4 separate regions of the Homo sapiens genome follow, and all the other regions are linked to region 4. Evidence: promoter capture Hi-C in 16 types of primary human blood cells and fetal thymus (Javierre and others, 2016). All regions are on one chromosome and are shown on one strand. Each heading gives the region's core, a stretch centred on a gene start or on the middle of the fragment in contact. The rest is flanking DNA. Distances are from core to core; before and after follow the strand shown.

Evidence for each region. Contacts are between HindIII fragments. The CHiCAGO score rates a contact against its expected background, and 5 or more counts as called.
Region 1: a contact is called between a fragment that was not itself captured here and the fragment with the promoter of NAA16 in region 4, in 1 of 17 cell types (erythroblasts). The highest score is 6.0, in erythroblasts.
Region 2: a fragment that was not itself captured here is called in contact with the fragment with the promoter of NAA16 in region 4 in 1 of 17 cell types (megakaryocytes); the score reaches 5.3 in megakaryocytes.
Region 3: a contact is called between a fragment that was not itself captured here and the fragment with the promoter of NAA16 in region 4, in 5 of 17 cell types (fetal thymus, total B cells, monocytes and 2 more). The highest score is 8.7, in fetal thymus.

Annotation. Positions count from the first base shown.
Region 1 is chr13:42,259,319-42,262,872 of GRCh38, reverse strand. No RefSeq gene overlaps it. Among named protein-coding and RNA genes, the nearest start is that of AKAP11, 11 kb to the left of the region's middle. RefSeq lists a cis regulatory region at 2,900-3,406. The HindIII fragment of the contact is 3,886 bases long and covers 1-3,308 here.
Region 2 is chr13:42,119,616-42,123,069 of GRCh38, reverse strand. The region is part of intron 1 of DGKH (diacylglycerol kinase eta); the gene reads right to left. Among named protein-coding and RNA genes, the nearest start is that of DGKH, 73 kb to the right of the region's middle. The HindIII fragment of the contact is 2,422 bases long and covers 338-2,759 here.
Region 3 is chr13:41,960,137-41,963,597 of GRCh38, reverse strand. VWA8 (von Willebrand factor A domain containing 8) reads left to right here and starts at 2,489. Exons shown (of 45, transcript NM_015058.2): 1 at 2,489-2,745. The coding sequence starts at 2,583. It overlaps VWA8-AS1 (VWA8 antisense RNA 1), which reads right to left and starts at 2,429. Exons shown (of 4, transcript NR_039974.1): 1 at 1,364-2,429. RefSeq lists a silencer at 2,410-2,819 and enhancers at 3,020-3,159, 3,255-3,461. The HindIII fragment of the contact is 708 bases long and covers 1,269-1,976 here.
Region 4 is chr13:41,309,564-41,313,042 of GRCh38, reverse strand. It overlaps NAA16 (N-alpha-acetyltransferase 16, NatA auxiliary subunit), which reads right to left and starts at 1,776. Exons shown (of 20, transcript NM_024561.5): 1 at 1,461-1,776. The coding sequence starts at 1,514. It also overlaps a transcript of MTRF1 not described here. The HindIII fragment of the contact is 1,668 bases long and covers 480-2,147 here.

The DNA of each region.
Region 1 (3,554 bases), core at 116-2,615, 950 kb before region 4:
GAGCCCTCTCTACAGAAATGATGCTTGATTCTTAGACACCATACAGAATCTATATTCCAGCCCCTTCTGCCAGAACATGGCAAATGTTTCCTCTCCTTGTTCTCAGTAATCTAATTTACCACCTCCATTGGGGACTGGGTTTTGTAATACTATAGTGTTTTCTCCTATGATCCAGCTTCTACTGGACCTTCTCATTTCTCACCCAGGAATGGCAATAATATATTAAGAGATCTAGCAAACCCTCTGCTTGCCCTCAGACAGAAGTGTGTTTCAAATGACTTACATGTTATAGAAAATTGTCATGAATCCTGCCCTCTGTTTATTCATTCATTTTGGTGAACACAAGGTTCTACTTTCCTTGACTCATGACTTCTAACAACTCTAGGTCAAAAAATGGAAGTAGTGGAATACAATGATATACAAAATATACAGAAGAACAAACACCTACTGGGAAAAGCCAAAGGTTTTCTGTGATCCCTGCCAAACATTCAGTTCCCCTGGGCCACCTTGATAATGGATTTCCTCACTAAGCTCCCTTCCTCTCAGTAATATAATACCACTTTCAGAGCTGTTCCAAGAACCAGTGGCTCACTTCCACCTATGCCAGGGAACCCCCAGAGGAGTCACTTGGATAGTAATACTGGTCCACAAAGCCATGAACAAAATTGCTGTGGTCTGAGGACCCTTCTGTATTTCTATTTAGGGTGATTTTACATTCTATTTTGACTGGTACAATCACAGTTGCTGCCTGTTATTAGCGCCTCTTTTATTTTTCAAAAATATCTCAGTTTAGAAAAGAATTTGGATACCCTGTTTATATCCTGCCTTAGGCAGAACCTCTTCTCTACCGGTCAGTCAAAATGGACCTGTCCTGGGATACGACCCCCAGACTACTAGCTGTACAGAAATAATCAGCCAACCCCTAAGGCTATAATATATTTTCAATGTGAAGTCCTAATTTGGGAAAAGGAATCAGACTGCAGGACCACAGGAAAGCAAAAAGAAAAAACAGGTAAGTTATAAGTCTGCCTTTCTTCATGGTCCAGGACACATAGCCCTCTTGCACATTTAACTCACAATCTTCCTGTGCCTAGCTATCACCAGACCCTTGGCTGATAGAAAAATGCAAATTAGCTCACTGAAACCTTAGTGTTATCAGTACTGCACAAAGCCCTCTTCACATAACAGAAGCACCATCCTATAAAATCTTCAGCAGGCCTTTGTCTCCTTGCAGTCAGCTCCTCTCTTGCTGACCTGCCCATTACTTCCTTGAAACATACTTTCATACTTTCTCTAATAAATCTGTCTTTCTTTACTTACAATTGTCTTGGTGTATTAGTCCATTTTCACACTGCTGATAAAGACACGCCCAACACTGGGAAGAAAAAGAGGTTTAATGGACTTACAGCTCCACACGGCTGGGGAGATCTCACAATCATGGTGGAAGGCAAGGAAGAGCAAGTCACATCTTACATGGATGGTGGCAGGCAAAGAGAGAGAATTTGTGCAGGGAAACTCCCATTTTTAAAACCATCAGATCTCGTGAGCCTTATTATTATCATGAGAACAGCATGTGAAAGACCCACCCGCATGATTCAAACATCTCCCACTGAGTCCCTCCCATAACACGTGGGAATTATGGAAGCTACAAGATGAGATTTGGGTGAGGACACAGAGCCAACCCATATCACTTGGTAAATTCTTATTACCACTTACACAACATCGGCCTCAGATAGTCACTATCTGCAACATTCAGTGCCACCCTTCCCACTACCAAGATAACTAACTGATCGTTTCTTCTTCCTGTCAGCTAACTTGCTTATTTAAATGTCATCCACTCTTATCTCGGAACACAAAATGTGCATTAACTACATTTTCTAACCAGGGTATTTCTTGGGCCTACTTGTGTTTGCAGCTGTAGAATATGTTGAAGAATTCTAAGCCACCAAGAATAACTGACAAGTTTTCTCAAGGATGTTAAGACCTTCAAATGATATGTCAACAGTGGTACCCAGGGACAACCCTAAAGGAATGTTACTAGTCTCAGTGACATCTTGGTAATTTCTCTATACATAACTCTTAACAAATCTACATGTTACCGTTCTCATCTCCTCATCATGACCATTGTGTATGTAACACATAATTACAACTCCTAATGCTTTCAAATTCCAGAGTGTACTTCATTAGTCCCTCCTTCATCCTGCCAAATTCAACTCCTATTCTTCATACTTTATATTTGGGAATATGTAGTTTATGTCACCTCAGACTCTCACTCCACTGGAAAGAAATCCAATACTTTAACAAATGGAATACAAGAAAAAAAACAAATACTGAGAGCCTGCCACCTCATCTCTGCCTGCCATTGGGATCTTTGGCCACTGCCCTACAGGGAAGATGCAGAGACCCACAGTGCTGGGATTTCTACTGCAATTTGGTCCCTAGAAAACTCATTAGTCCAGTTGAAGGGGGTAGCATCACCTCCTGTCCCAAGGATCTGACTCTCCTTGAGAATTCTTGAAAAGACATTTGTCAGGAAGCCTACATGGGATACATTTCCCTAGTCTGTGACTCTGGCCATACACATTACTCCTGTTTTACACATTATCTTTGGTTCTTCATAACCAACTTGACCAATGTGCCACTTGAAGGCAGGTAGCGACTGTGCCTTATTGACTCCCAAGGGTCTGTCACAAAATCAAATAATTGTCATCAATTGTTATCAACAGGCACATTTCTGCTGTTCCACAATACCTTTTCATTCTTTCTTTTCATATGGTTTCTTGAGGCTTGACCTGAGGAATGGGGACAAAATAGCAGTGAAGGTCTGGCTTGGAGTCAGTAGCCTTGAAGACAGTGGGGTGCTTAGGTTGGGTACGATGCAGTTACTAAAGAGTCTAAGTCAAGCATAAGCTGTGGTCTCTAATAGGGAAATAAATAGAGGGGTCCCAGAAACAAGCAAGAAGCCAACCTAGCATAGAACCGGAGGAAAATTAGCAGGAGGGCCAAGCTGTTCGAAGCAGAACTATTCAGGTAACCTAAGACAAAAGGATTGCTAAGAGGTGTTGCATTTTATAAGGCAAGTAGCTTGGGGACGTGACTTCCTGTGTACTCACTTAAAAGACTCCGGAGGCCACTATCATCTCCAAAACAGAGGGTTATAGTTCCAAGAAATACTTTATCTCTAGGTCTGAGTAAGGAAAGGTAATGAAAGACAGCTGTGTCCCAACACATTTTCTATTTCAAGAGCCTGCATCTCCAGTGCTTAATTTGATCAGTCTGACACAGGTTAGGAAGGAAATAAGGAAGCTTAGCAAGTGCTGAAAACTGTAAATTTTCATCTTGGCTTAGGCCCTCTATTACATTCATCTACTAGATTGGAACAGGTTTTAGGCAAGAGAGCTAGGTGGAAATTCAGTCTGGAGCTCAGAGTTCCATGTTCCAGAGACAGTTCATGAATGCACCAGGTGTCAAAGGATCCAACACCAAGTATAAGAGATGATCCAAAAAGCTAACAAAATATAGCATTAGAGAATCAGGAGATACTCAGAAACCCA
Region 2 (3,454 bases), core at 299-2,798, 810 kb before region 4:
AGCAAATGGTGAATGTACAAGCTAATCCAATCTGACTTTTCTAAAGTTAGTCACATCTTTTTATAACGCTAAAAATTATTGTGGTCTTGGATCATACAGATTTTTTAGTCAAATCAAAGAACATCTTGCAAAATTATTTGGCTAAAGTAATTATAATTCTTAGTGTAAATTCATGTTTAACTCCAAAACATGACCACTCTTTGCTGTATTCTCTGAAGACAAAATTTCCTCCTATTCATCTATATAGGTGGAGCATGTCTTCTTGATCCATGTTTCAAAATATGTGCACACATCATATGCAATGACAAGATACGCTAACAGTCTAATCTAAAAAGCTTTCCCAGGACCTGTAGAAAACATGAAGAATTATAAAGAAAGACTGACACTGTCTATTATAATTTGATGTCCCCTCTGAAACTTATGATGAAATACAATCCTCAATATGGCAGTGTTGAGACCTAGAGCCTTCAAGAAGCTATGGGGTCATGAGTGCTCTGCCTGCATGAATGGATTAATCCATACATAGATTAATGGTTAATGGATCAATGGGCTAACATGAGAGTGGAACTGATGGCTTTACAAGAGAAGAAAGAAAGATCTGAGCTAGCACATTAGCATGCTCAGCCCCCTTGCCATGTGATACTCTGTGTAACCTTGGGACTCTGCAGAGAGTCCCTGCCAGGAAGAAGGCTCTCACCAGATGCCCAGCTATGCCCTTGGACTTTCCAGCCTCCAGAACTGTAACAAATAAATTTATTTTCCTTATAAATCACCCAGCCTCAGGTGTTCTAAGCAAGAAAAATGAACTAAGAAACTGCCACTCTTTATGTGGCATAATGAGAAGCTAAATCTTGTGATGACATCATGAAGCACTCATGCCCTCTCATTCCACTTTCTCTTTCTGCCCTCTTTCACCCTTTAGCTTCTCCCTTTGGTCAACAACTAACATATATTATAAAAGTTCTACCAGAAATTATGTAGTCTAGCTACAAAGAACTATCATGTCCCTCATCAAGAACCTAATTGGGGTAGTGGGGAAAATTTTTCATGCCGCACCTCAGAAAGAAAAGTCTGACTTATGAATATTTCAAACACAAATGGTCATTAGTAATGAGAAGGTCTTTATTCTGGCTGTGTAAAGAACTCTTGAGGGAGAGACTCCACGGCGGAGGTGAGGTGTACTCTTCATTCATCACACAGACAGTATCCACTAATGAGGCTCCAAGTGAAGGACTCTCTGTGTCCCAGGAACCTGGGTTCCAAGTTAGAACTAGGAGTACATCTTTCCATAGAAACCATGTCATAAATCTGCCTTAACGCTTAAGTCCCCATGCTATAGTCTCATGTGTCTGAATCCCAAGGATACCAGTTGCCTAATACTTCTATGGGTGTAGTGGTGAGAAGGAATGAGTCCTGACATAGCTGCAGAAAAATGAACAGGAAGGTCACAGGCAAATTAGGAGGTCAATCTCAACTGAGGATAGGTTTTACCTGCCTTTTGCACTGGCCTGGATTATAAACTCCTTGGAGTCCGGGAGGTCTATCTCATTTGTCTTTGTATCACCATTGTGAAGGTTCTATAATTTATGTAAGTACAGATGCTCCTCAAGTTACAATGAACATACTAATAAACTCATCATAAGTTGAAAATATTGTAAGTCAAAAATGCATTTCATATACCTAGCCTACTGAACATCACAGCTTAGCCTAATCTACCTTAAACGTGCTCAGAACACTTACGTTAGCCTACAGGTGGGCAAAATCATCTAATACAAAGCCTATTTTCTAATAAAGTATTGAATATCTCATGTAATTGAATATCACACTGAAAGTGAAAACAGAATGGTTGCATGAGAACTCAAAGTACGTTTTGTACTGAATTCATACTGCTTTCATATCAGAAAATTGGAAAATTATTAAGTTGAACCACTGTAAGTCAGGGAATGTCTTGTGTGCGTGTGTGTGTGTGTGCGCATGTTGTGTGTGTGTGTGTGTGTGTGTGTATAATATATATTATTACTTTCATAGAAAAATGTGGTCTAAGTTCCAAACAACCAGTTCATAAACAAACTACTTCTGGAACAAAATCTAGTTGTGGGTTGGGGTCTGTAAGTAAAAAGGAAAATGGGCAAAGTAACCTCTGTGACAGTGGTTCATAACTTTGGTTGGATCAAGATGCCTTTTCAGAATCTGTTGAAAGTTGTGAATACTATCTCTCCAGAAACATGCCTGCATGTGCGCACATACACACACAATATACACACTAAAAATTACATACAATTTTAGAGGGTTCATGAACTTTCGAGATCTACCATAACTAAAAATTACAGCCTCCATATAACAGTAAATTGGATTAGTGTTTTGGTGGTTGTTTTTTAAATAATTGGATTAGTTTTTTGGTTGTTGTTTTTTAAATAAATCATATCCTTAATATGGTTATGGGTAACAAATAATAATTCTTTTAAACTTTGTCTTCAGTTAGCTTAATGGTCTCCTATACCATTTGAAACAGCGTAATTTGATATTACTTGAGGTTAGAGAGCAATAACTGAAAAATTTTGAGTTCCAATTTTCTGTTGCATTTTCAGCAGTAGTTAATAATTATATAACCAAACAAATCCTAAAATATACAGGCATTTCCTAATTCGAAAGTTTGAAATATACTTATTTATTCAATTTGAAAATTTTATTTTTGAAGATATACTACATAGTTGTTCTTCCCAAGATGATTAAACATTATTTTATAAAAATGAAAAGCTTACCCTAAGAAAAATTAATTTGAATTCAAATATTCATTCCTTCAAAACACAAAAGAATATATTTTCATTCCATGTTTTCAGTCCTAGTTTATTTTCAAACCAAGATTGGAGATGTGGAACCTCTGGGTAACATATTATTTTCACTTTAGACTAGGAAAGCTCAATTAGCACCCACACCTCAATAACCTGAAATAACCAAACAACGGTTCAGAGTCTTTAATGTCCTATCCAGTTTCATGGTTCACTGCTGCATAAAGTGTGCACTTGTGACTCATAAAAGGACACTGCCATAGAGAGAGGTCAAAAGATAATATGGGGAAAATATAACCACAGTAGAAAGGAAGTATCAAAGTTTGTATTATCAGTATTTAAGAGAGTTATTCTTCAAAAAAATAACATTGATTCAGCATTTATGATTAAAAAGAGAATGTGCAAAAAATAAGAGGTATAAAAATCAAGACTTGATAGTATGTTAAATAATCATTAACTTGATGAGAAAGGAATATGAAGTATTCATTTAAAAACATACAGATTACATGGCAAAACAATGTGAATATACTTAAAGCTACTGAAATGCACATTTAGAAATGATTAAGATAGTAAATTCTGTTATAAAATTTTTGTTATAAAATTTTTACCATAATGTAAATAATTTTTTTAAAAAGAAGAGATTACAACACTCTTAAATATCCCAG
Region 3 (3,461 bases), core at 373-2,872, 650 kb before region 4:
CACCTTCTACTACTTTCGAAAGATTAACCTCCTCATCTGGCTGGTCTCATGGCCCCTGTAACTGAACTCTGTCAGGACTCCAAGCCTCTACTTAGGCTCTATACCCCGCTTCTCTGTGTATCCAGTCCTAAATGGCATTCAAAGTTAAGCTCAGGTGCTGCCTTTTCTCAGGCTCAAAGTTTTCCTCCCCATTGTAGCTTTGTCACTCTAAAAAACCTTCACCATTTTTCCATTTCCTGGAGGTTAATGTGCAAACTCCTTCTCTTGGCATACAACATGGCCCCAGATTCTCTTTCTGGTCTTATTCTTACAAACTGTTGTATATACTTGACCTCTAGACACACTGAATCACTCTCTGGTTCTCAATCATGCCCTGCACTTTCAGCTGTTTCTTTCTCTCTCTCTCTGTACATGATCTGTCTGCCAGATTTGACTTGTCTCAGCCTGACAAACTCTTGTATAATATATCCTACATGAATCATTTCAAACACTACCTTCTCTGTGAAGACTCCAGGTGCAGCAATCCACTCCACAGTATGTTGAACCTAAATCTCTTGACACGTGTCTCACTGTATTGCAATTCTTTATTTGCATATTTATCATCAATACCTAATGTGAGCCCATTGATTCACAGTATCTAGCAGGGTACTGTTTATACAGCAGTTACTCAATAAATGTTGTCGTTGGGAGGCTGAGGCAGGAGGATCACTTGAGGCCAGGAGCTTGAGACCAGCCTGGGCAACATAACAAGACTCCACTGCTACGAAAACAAAAACACAAAAATTAGCCAGGCACAGTGGTGCACGCCTGTAGTCTCAGCTACTAGGGAGGCTGAAGCAGGAGGATCACTCGAGCCCAGGAGTTCGAGGTTGCAATGAGCTATAATACTGCCGCTGCACCCCAGCCTGGGCAACAGAGTGAGACTTTGTCTCTAAAAAAAATAAAACTAGGCAAAAAATGTTGTTGAATGCTCTAACTTGTGTTGATCTCTCCATTGTCTTAACTCCAAGAGCTCTTAGTGCTTATATCAACCACTTTGCAAAATTGCCTTAGGTTGTTCTCCCATTCTTTCAGGTGTCTACTGAGTTCCAGCGAGATTAAATGGAGATATCTTGACCAAGGTATTCAATTCTTCTAGCCTCAGTTTCTTCATCTGTAAAACGGAGGATAATAATAGTACCTCAAAGCATTTTTATGTGAAATGGGATAATTCATTAAAATCTTGATACATACAATGTGCTCAAAGTAGGAAAAGCATTTTATAAGCTTACATCCTAAATTTATGTCTTAGGGTTGCTATGAGGATTAAATGAGAAGATACACATGAAACGAAGTCATAATATATTGTGTAACTACTTATTACCTTTATTTTCACTGTCTCCTCATCTAGGTTAGAAGCCTGGTTCAGCCTTCATTCCTCAAGTTCTTCCGCTGGATGCCCAAAGCCTTCCTTACCTAGCCTTGTTTGACTTTTACAGTCTCCACTCTAACACTCTCTTCTCAGCACTCATCACAGGGTCAGGCGCAGGGTAGGTGCTATGTATTTAGACAGTGGCAGCTCTAGAATTAGCAAGGTCTTTAGCTGAAAGTGAGGTCTTCTGCCTTCTTTTTGATGTTTGCTTGTATAACTTGTCTCAAATATTTTGCCTTAGTCAATTCACTGTGACATTTTGGGGATGCAGTCTAATTACATTAGGCTTAGTTTGCTTTGTGGTAGGACCATTTCCGATGTTGGAATGTACAAGAGGGAGGCAGCCTTAGCCAGTGTCCTACTTTTTCCTTTACTAAAGACATAAATCATCTTTATATAACTTTTGTATTACAGCATGACTAGAAAAGTGCTTGATCTGGATCCTTTCTGATATTTAAGCAATTTCCATCTATCACTAAGATGTGAATTTTTTCCTTAGAATTTAGGAAGCGGTAATAAAACACAGAAACAAACAACCACCACCAAAAGGACAAAGGGTAAAGCTTTCACGTACGGTTTGGAAACACTAGTGTGGTTACAATGAATCAAGACAGTTGTGAAAGTTCCCATCATCTTGTGCATGTTTTCTCCATTTCCGAAATCTGAAGCCGAATACAGGGAAAGCTCCCTATACTTACTGGGCCTTTAACTAAGAAACGAAGACTTGGGGCAAGCATCTGAAGAGTCACACCGACAAATGCTCCTAAAACCCTTGGCATTTACTGAACTCCTGAGATTCTGTGGGATCGCAGGGAAACGGCGGGTGAAGGCCTGGTGCATCCAGGTGAACAGACAGTCTCACGGACTGCGAGGCGCTTGCCAGAGCCCAGCGCCGCAGCTCGGAGCACCCCCGCGGTGCGGGCAGTCCCGGGACGGTGCCGGCTCTTTGGGCTGGAGCTCCGCAGGCTCTTTCCGCCCGTCTGGGCCATGCAGGGCCGGGTAGGGCCGGGCTGAGTCTACTGAGCCGGCCGCGCCGCGGGGGAAGGAGTTTCCGGCGGACTCGGCTAGGTGCCGCTTCCTGTCCCCTTCTCCGCGCTGCCTCACGGTGCCTGCACGGGACGCCGCTCGATCCCCGAGCCCCCTCGCCGTCCCCGACAGCCCCCCCGGCGCCATGCAATCCCGGCTTCTACTCCTCGGGGCACCCGGAGGCCACGGCGGCCCGGCCTCGCGGCGCATGCGGCTGCTCCTGCGGCAGGTGGTGCAGCGCAGGCCGGGTGGCGACAGGCAGCGGCCGGAGGTCAGACTGTTGCACGCCGGCTCGGGGGCCGACACAGGTAACTCGGGGTGCGCCCCTGTCCTCCCTGGTGCCCCTGCGCTCCGTGCCGGGTCCCCGCGCGCCCCCGCCCCTCCTCTCTGTTGCTTCGCTGCGCTTGGAAGGACCGTTTGCCGAGCGGGGAGCTGAAAGATTGAGGTTCTAGTCCCGACCTCGGCGCTAACTGCTGTGTAACGTGGGGGCAAGGCGCTCGCCCTCTCTGTGCCTGATTCTGCAACCCGAGGGGTCTGGACTAAGGTTTCTGATGACCTAGAAGAGTGATTTCTCCTTCCCCTGCCGCTGCCTTTACCCCCAGAATTCTGACTTAGGTTATAATACTCGTAGAGGTTAATGCCTCAGCCCTATGGAATTATTGAAAGCTGGATTTGACCTTGCTCTCTGAGCCTCAAGGGCCTGGAAGCCGGTCTGTGTCATGTTCTAGCCAGGGCTTGTGGCGGCTTAGAAGGGAACATTCTTGCCAAAGAACCCATAGTTCACGGTGTTTTAAATGCATCCCCGAGCCTTTCCAAGTTTTACAGGAGTTTTCCTTAAAGTTTCACGTAATTCTTAGAGCTGACAGTTACACCTTAATTTAGTTAAAACACTTGCCTCTACAAATGAGGTAATTGAAACCCAGAAGGGAAAAGTGATTCGCTGGAGAACACACAACTAATTACTATGCTAGAATCACATGCTTTGATTTCTAAGCTCAGTATTTTTTGGCTCTACTTGAGCTGG
Region 4 (3,479 bases), core at 527-3,026:
TAGCGATTTATAAATGATATTATCATTAATGTTTCAGATTCCCAGGGCAAAAAAAAATTAAAAATAAAAATAAATAAATTACTTCTCCAATTCCATGCTGTGTAAAATAAAAGGGCATGAGAAGTAAAATAAAAAAATACAAAGCCCAATGAAGCAACCTGCCACGTGCTTTAATTATTCGTATTTTTAATGTTCTCACATTTGTATCTTATTATTGGTTCAAAACTAAGCACCACATAATATTTAAAATTTTTATCCCATCTACTATGTATCCTAATCTGAAGACTAAGTGTGAAGTTTCTATCGTCTTGAAACAGAACAGCTACTATGAATTATCTGCCGCTGTTCATACTTAAAATTACTCTAAAATTAGTATTTTATTTATAGTAAAGTTAAGCAACAACTAACAGCCATATAGCCAACCCAGCTTTCAATAAATTCACCTTTAAACCTAAATGCATGTTTAGCAAATAAAAGCTTTTTTTCAGGTGAAAAGATAAACTAGAAAAGACAGTTACCTACTAACAATATTAGTTTAAAACCTAGGGTAGCCAGAGGATACTGAGGAAAGCAAAGGAATGCTGCCTCTTCTCCTTGGAAGAACAGAACCTGGAAAGCTACCAGGGACGCTGGCACACAGCCCACAGAAAACTGCCCACCCGGCTCCGCAGCGGTCATCACTACGGGGCCATTATTCAGGCTTCTGCTCCGCGATAAAGTAAAAATGCTCCCCTCAAATGCAAAACCAGCCAGTCCACGCGGCTTTAATTACTCAAGCAAGGCCTGTGCGACTAAAAAGCAAACAGCTGTTTTGAAGTTGGTGACAACTCAGAAACGCACTTCAAGTCAAATATTCACTTCCAAAGAGGTAAATAAGGTACATTACAAACAGGCAAACTTTTTCCCAAAGGGAGGTGGTGCCAGGCCTGGCTTCCTAAAGTTGCCGGTTTTATTTCCTCGTAACCAGGAAAAATTCCACCATCGCATCGATCCCGCTTTAATAGGTATGCGGGTGTGCTGTGCAATCTAACTAAACGCAAAGCAGAGAATGCAGAACGCAAAACACCTAGCCGAGGAGAGACTGGCAAAATAAACCACCGGGGGAGGATCCCTGAGGGGCTGCTGCGAGCCCGGCGCGGCAGAGAGCACGGCAGCCACTACCGGCCGAGGCGGCTGTGCCCGGGCACTGCGGAGAGCGGCGTGAAGTTTCTGGAAAGAGCGCGGCGGGGGTGAGGCGAGCCGCAGAAGACCGCGGAAAGGAAGCGCACGGAGGAGCGGCTCGGCAGCCCCCGTGGGCCGGCCGGAGCGGGAAAGTGGGGTCCCGCGACCTCCGAGGTAAACAAAGAGCGGTGGGCAGCGGAGGCCAAGCCTGGCCCGCGCCGGCCGCCGCCAGACCGCTTGCCCTTAAGGCCCGAGGACCCGGGGACCGGGGGGCGGCAGCGCGGCCTACGGCCACTCACCAAGATGCGTTTGAAGAGGTTGCTCTCCTTGGGCGGCAGCAGCACGTTCGGCATCGTGGCCGGCAGGGAGGCTAGGTGGCCGGCAGGGAGGCTAGGTGCCCGGGCGCTCCGCTTCGCGGGGGTGGGCACCGGGACGAACCGCTGCTGAGAGTCGGGCTGCGGGCGATGGATTAGTTCATTGGTCTACAGTTGCAATTGGGCAGCCTGGCTGTTCGGCACGGGTGGCAATGGAGAAGGAAGGCGGTCTGAGCAGGACACGCTTCCCCTGGGCTCCGCTTTTTGGCCAGCGGCGGCGGCGGCGGTTCCCGCGCACTGCAAGATGGCAGCCAGGGTCCGCCTCCCGAGCCGGATCCTGTGCGCATGCGCGGAGCGCCCTTTGGCGAGGGGCTGCGGGTGACTACGGGGGCGTAGCGGGGACCAACCGCGTGGATTTGCCTTGTGCTGCGGCTCTCCTCGCCGCAATCTCGGCACCCCCTGGGGCTCAGGCGAGCTGTCACCAAAACCTTGGAGTCCCATGGGGTGGTGAGTCACCACCCTCATTCACCATTGCTCCTATGCATCAGAACGCCTCATAAGACTCCTACTTATTGTCTGCTTCTCCTTGCAATAAAGTAATAAATAAAAACGAGAATTTTCTTTTAAGTAGAAAAGAGAAGACACTGACTTGTATTGCACTCTTGATAAGCTTGTGGCGCAAGATAATGTTAGTTATGACTCTGAAGAGTCAGAGTTTTTTGCATTTCTCCCCATTTAGGAATTTAAGTGTCCGATGCAAAGTAGACTTTTGATGAAAGATGAACTTGTTTTCTTTCCTTTTCCTCCTTGATTCAGACTCTAAGTAGAAGCCTTCTCTTTCCAGGGCAAACCAAACAAACATTTACAATCTTTGTTTTTGTTTGGTTGGTTGGTTTTGAGATGGAGTATCGCTCTTGTCGCCCAGGCTGCAGTGCAGTGGCGCTATCTGGGCTCACTGCAACCTCCGCCTCCTGAGTTCAAAGGATTCTCCTGCCTCAGCCTCCCGAGTGGCTGGGATTACAGGCATGCGCCACCACACCCGGCTAATTTTGTATTTTTAGTAGAGACAGGCTTTCACCATGTTGGCCAGGATGGTCTTGATCTCTTGACCTCGTGATCCGCCCCCGCGTCAACCTCCGAAAGTGCTGGGATTACAGGCGTGAGCCACCACACCTGGCCGGAATTACGGTTTTATAAGGCCACTGGTCTTCTGAGTCTACCTACCCTTTCTCTTCAGATGGTTCCCCTTCCTGAAAGCCATATAATAATGGGAGAAACAGGCTTCAAATTCAGGATCTTCCAACTCTGGGATACTCTCTACAACAAATAAAAGGCAGCATATTGATGGTAATGTGTGAGTCTAGAAAGATACAACAGTGGCAAGAATAAACCATACATTCAGTGTAGGGTTAGTAGTAAGGTGTGTGTAAACATTAGGTACATAAGTTTATTTATACATGTGCTGAATCTTAATGGGTGCATATTTCTGAGACTATAAAGTAATTGATGAGTAACTGCATTTAGTCGGCTGTAATCAGAACTGGGCTGCCCTTTTTTATTTTCCTTTTTTTGAGACGATGTTTTGTTCTTGTTGCCGAGGCTGGAATGCAATGGCGCTATCTCAGCTCCCTGTAACCTCCGCCTCCCAGGTTCAAGCGATTCTCCTGCCTCAGCCTCCCAAGTAGCAGGGATGACAGGCATGCACCACCACACCTGGCTAATTTAGTATTTTTAGTAGAGACGGGGTTTCTCCATGTTGGTCAGGCTGGTCTCAAACTCCCGACCTCAGGTGATCTGCCCACCTCGGCCTTCCAAAGTGCTGGGATTACAGGTGTGAGCCACAGTGCCTGCCTATTTGATTTTCCTTCTTTCTAGCCTAAGTTGGTTGGACATGAAAGAATCATAGGAGTCTTTTTTTTTCTTTCAATCTCCTACGTTTCACACATGATTTTAAAGCATCATAGGAGTCCTTTAAAATAGGGAAAGTACTGTCATTAAAATTGG